Linked DNA regions of Homo sapiens: region 2 is linked to region 1. Evidence: promoter capture Hi-C in human tissues and cell types (Jung and others, 2019). All regions are on one chromosome and are shown on one strand. The core of a region is centred on a gene start or on the middle of the fragment in contact, and the rest is flanking DNA. Distances in the headings are between cores, read along the strand shown. Region 1 holds the start of HOXA4 (homeobox A4). Region 2 overlaps SKAP2 (src kinase associated phosphoprotein 2).

Evidence for each region. Contacts are between HindIII fragments. The study calls those that stand out against the background at their distance.
Region 2: a contact is called between a fragment that was not itself captured here and the fragment with the promoter of HOXA4 in region 1, in 1 of the 25 tissues and cell types used here (dorsolateral prefrontal cortex).

Annotation. Positions count from the first base shown.
Region 1 is chr7:27,129,492-27,132,034 of GRCh38, reverse strand. HOXA4 (homeobox A4) reads left to right here and starts at 1,278. Exons shown (of 2, transcript NM_002141.5): 1 at 1,278-1,917; 2 at 2,464-2,543. The coding sequence starts at 1,302. The region is part of intron 2 of HOXA3 (homeobox A3); the gene reads left to right. RefSeq lists a silencer at 1,051-1,120. The HindIII fragment of the contact is 3,192 bases long and covers 1-2,543 here.
Region 2 is chr7:26,794,598-26,797,140 of GRCh38, reverse strand. The region is part of intron 4 of SKAP2 (src kinase associated phosphoprotein 2); the gene reads left to right. Among named protein-coding and RNA genes, the nearest start is that of SKAP2, 69 kb to the left of the region's middle. The HindIII fragment of the contact is 6,768 bases long and covers 1-2,543 here.

The DNA.
Region 1 (2,543 bases), core at 29-2,528:
TGGAATTAATAAGTAATTTATTTGTTAATAATGGCGTAATTAGTGTACCCATCAAATTTCAATTACCAAATAGCAGGCAACAGTCTCCTCTCCCTCCTTTCCGGAGCTTCTGATATCGTTAATACGCTAATTTTCAGCAATTCAGAAATTATAGACTGTCCTGCAAATATAACTCTAGCCTCAGATACTGCCTGAGAAAGCAGGATCTAAAAGAGAAAACATGAAATTCTTAGCTGGAAAAGACCCATCAGCGATCAGACCCGGCAAGGTGTTTATTCTACCCTTAGCTTGTTTTTGTTTGGGGATAGTTCTGAAATAGGAAGTTATTGTTTTCAAAGCTCGGTTCTGTGGAGGTGTTGCTTCTATCCATTCCCATCCTTGGGCCACCTTCTCTCTCACAATCGCACCTAGTAAATGCGGGCATATTTAGCTCTCACATCGACAACCCCCGTCAAATTAGATGCTATTACGAAGGTTCCAATTTTTCTTAGGAAAACACGAAACAGATTGTCTCTGAAAGAAGGAAAAAATGAAAAGTGTCCATCCAGTTATAATGGAATGGCCTCGATTTACATCCTTGGGTCGATTTCTCTTAGCTGCCCGCCCACCCTTTGCAGCTTCTGCCAAGCTTCTCAAAGCAAGGGCTCTCAGGCTGACACGCAAGGAGCAGGGTGTGGGGAAGGGGGATCTGCGGTTGAGAAAATGTGTCTGGTGGCCTCTCAGTGGCGTACATAAAAACCAGGATGCCCCTCGGTCCCAACGCCCTTCCTTTCGCCTGTTAGCCTAGAACCCCTGAAGGACACGAAGCCTGACTGGGTTGCGCCCGAGGTCAGCGCTGAGTCGCGGCCGCCAGACAGCCCGAGGCCTAGGCCAGCAGTAGGGCAGGCAGAGGGCTCCCGAGAGGACCTACAGCCTGACAGGGCCTGAATTCCCAGCGGGAACCAAAGCTGGGGGGCTGGGGTCCAAAGCTCCTGCTCCCTCCCCCAGCCCAGGGGCCGGACAGCAGCATCCATCACGCACCCGCGCGTTTCCTGATCCGGGTCCGCGCGCGCGGTGCGCCCATTGGTGGGGGCGCTGCACGTGGGGCACGGGGCGGGGCGCGCGCTGGGCTGGGGAGGAGCGGCTCGAACTTTGGTGGCGGCGTCTGCGGGAGGGGGAGGAGTGGGCACTTGACAGCGGGGGGAGGGGAAGGGCGCAGAGGAAAGGGGGATGGGAAGCGAGGCAGGAGGGGGAGGGGCCTCGGCAAGCCCAGAAAAAACGACAACGCGAGAAAAATTAGTATTTTTGCACTTCACAAATTAATGACCATGAGCTCGTTTTTGATAAACTCCAACTACATCGAGCCCAAGTTCCCTCCCTTCGAGGAGTACGCGCAGCACAGCGGCTCGGGCGGCGCAGACGGCGGCCCGGGCGGGGGCCCCGGCTACCAGCAGCCCCCAGCGCCCCCGACCCAGCACCTGCCGCTGCAGCAGCCCCAGCTCCCTCACGCGGGCGGCGGCCGAGAGCCCACTGCCTCCTACTACGCGCCGCGGACCGCCCGCGAGCCCGCCTACCCTGCTGCCGCGCTGTACCCCGCGCATGGGGCCGCGGACACCGCCTACCCCTATGGCTACCGCGGCGGCGCCAGCCCCGGGCGGCCGCCCCAGCCCGAGCAGCCCCCGGCGCAAGCCAAGGGCCCAGCGCACGGCCTGCATGCGAGCCACGTCCTGCAGCCCCAGCTGCCGCCGCCCCTGCAGCCTCGCGCCGTGCCCCCAGCGGCCCCGCGGCGCTGCGAGGCGGCCCCCGCCACCCCAGGCGTCCCGGCAGGGGGCAGCGCCCCCGCGTGCCCGCTGCTCTTGGCCGACAAGAGCCCGCTGGGCCTGAAGGGCAAGGAGCCCGTGGTGTACCCCTGGATGAAGAAGATCCATGTCAGCGCCGGTACGTGGCGCCGCTTGGGAGGCGCGGGAGGTGGGCCGGGGCTGGGCCTGGGTTCGAGGGTCGGGGTCAGGAGGGAGAGGCTCAGGGGAAGGGGGCCTCGGGAGGGGAGCCCCCATCTGACCCGGGCTGCGGTGAGATGTGGGTATGTGCGCGCCAGCCAGCCGCCTGATCCCAACATGAGAACCCTTTTGTACCCAGGGTCCCTTTATCAGGAGATTTACGAGACGCCAAACTGTTAGGGCAGTAATTATAGCCCCCATAAATTTAATTGCCCTGGCAGAGGCTTCAGGCCATGTGTCTTTGAAGCTTTTCTTCAGCCCCAATGCCCAGCACCATTCTTTATGGCTCTCGGGTGTTTCCCGTTGTCAATAGCCTGTGAAACATTTTCTTTGCCGTTTTATGTATCTTGCGTGAACTTGGTGTCAGGTTATTATATAATGATGATGTCCAATTGCTCTTCCCCACCCCACCTTCTCTCTCCTCCTCCTTTCCCTCTCTTCCGCTCCCTCCTCCTTGGCCTTCTATTTCGGGGTTCTGGGTTTTCAGTTAACCCCAGTTATAACGGAGGGGAGCCTAAGCGCTCTCGAACCGCCTACACCCGGCAGCAGGTCTTGGAGCTGGAGAAG
Region 2 (2,543 bases), core at 22-2,521, 330 kb after region 1:
AAGGCAGCGAGGTCCCCTAATCCCCGGTGGGTCCAGAAGTACCATCCAGGAATTAGGGACTAGAGTCAAGTCCAACACTTCTGATTCATGGATGAAGATGCCCTATTTTCTTTATCTCCTCCAGATTTCTCCTCTACTTTTCTCCCACCAAATCTTAACCTATTATGACCATTTGCCCAAATGTTTTGTGCTCTGCTCATGGTAAAGGAGTAAGGGATATACAGTTGACTCATGAACAATGTGAGGGTTTAGGGATGTCAACCCCCTGTGCTTTTGAAAATCCACATATAACTTTTGACTCCCCCAAAACTAACTACTAATAGCCTGTTGTTGACCATAAGTCTTACCAACAACATAAACAGTTGATTAACACATATTTTGTATATGTATTATATACTGCATTCTTATAATAGAATAAGCTAGAGAAATGTTATTAAGAAAATTAATGAGAAAATACATTTACAGTACTGTATTTATTGGTGCCACAAGTTGATATCATCTATTTATGCAATCGATTATCTGTCCGAAATGGCAGGCAGCCACAGCTGCAGAACTCAATCTATGGTACATATCAAGCAACCCAACTTTTCCTTGTAATGTCATGAATTTTCTCTGCTTTTCAGAGGTACTGTTAGCATCACCAGTGGCACTTTGTATGGGTCCCATGGTGTTATTCAAGGTTTTCAGTATTGCACTAAACATGGTAAAAAATATGTGAGACCCACAAGAGATCACTTTTTACTGCGATATGCAATTTACTGGAGAGGTGAACTACTCACATGGAGATGATTAGTGTCAATTAGTGTCACATAGCGTTTTAAGCAGATTTTCGTAACACTCAAGCTCACCCCAACAGCAACAGGAGATGGCTATGATGTTATTACCAAAGGACAGGATATACTACAGTTAATTTTATGCAGTTATGATTTAATACTACATTATCATTTGTTTACATTTGTGTTGACTTTTCGTAGCATCATGTATGATCTGTGGTGCGTAAGTTTGGATAAATACTAACTTTTTATAATAGATATTTGTATGTTTTATGGTGGTAAATGATAAAATAGACTAGTATTTACATATATTTTATGCATTAATGACATACCTTTTTCTTGTTTCCATATTTCTAGGCCATGCAGGTCATCTCTGAGTTTTTTCAAATTGTCACAGATCTCTAAAAAATTTTCCAATATATTTGTTGAAAAAATCCATGGATAAGTGGACTCGTGCAGTTCAAACCTGTGTTGTTCAGGGGTCCACTGTAATTGATGCACTGCTATTTGCACTTATCAAGGAGCCATTCCTAAATAACCCCTAACAACCACTAATGATGTATTAAGTATGAATCACCAGGTAGTGGGAGAGATTTTATTTTTTCAAGAGTTAAGTGACTTACTAAGTTTCTCAAACAGTACTCTTCATAGGTGCCTGCTTCCCTTATCATTTTATAAGACTGTATCTGGATCATGAGGTTGTTGCCCAGTAAATCTAAATATAACATAGGGGCTTAAATGATGCTATTGTTTATATTATACCTCATATTTTTCCAAAATGGATTTGAGGTGGCTAAAATTTTGTTCCACTTACAGTGCTGAGAATCGTATCTTGCTAATAAATGTTGATTACATTTAATTAACTGCTTCTAAAGTTATCAAAATGAGGTTCTTACTAATAAGAAGAAAAATTCAAAAATCCACTTAGAAGTTTATTCATCCTATGATCTACGATAAGATTAAAATAAGTAGTATTTAGATAATTTGATCTTATTCAAAAGCTTGGAGCTTTCTGGTAGGAAAAAGTGATAACACTTAGTATGTTCATCCAGATGAATAAATTATTTACTGGAAAGGACCAACATCTGGATCTTTCACATTCTTCCTCTTTGGTTGTATATAACTACTGAAGTTTACCTATTGCAAGTGATAAGGAACTTGGCTAGAATTTCAAAGAATGAGGAATTTGATGGCATAAACTGAAGCAAATACTGTGTAGCAAGAGTAACAGTGAATTTCTGTGACTCTTCTCTTTTGAACTTTTAGGACATTTTCTGTTTATTAGTAAAATCTCTTTAATTGGTTCTCAAACATGTGTCCACTTATGATCAACATTGTTTTGTCTGTGTTGTGCCAAACCTCTATTAACCTCAATAGGGAAGGCACCAGGTTCAAGAGGCTGAAGAAGAGACCCAGAGCCAGCAAACGAGACATGGGGTTTTATTAGGAACTTATATACGTACAGGGGAGAGAATCCAGTGGTGGCTGGCTGGACAAGATATCCACCTTCCTTGCAGTCCAGTGGTGGTGGGCTGGACAAGATATCCACCTTCCTACAGTCCAGTGCTGCGGGCTGTACAAGATATCCAACTTCCTGTAGTCCAGTGGTGGTGGGCTGGACAAGATATCTGCCTTCTTACAGTCCAGTGGCAGGGGGTTGGACAAGATATCCACCTTTTTACAATCTAATGGTGGTGGGCTAGACAAGATATCCACCTTCCTACAGTCCAGTGGCAGCAGGCTGGACAAGATAATTGCATGGCCCAGTGA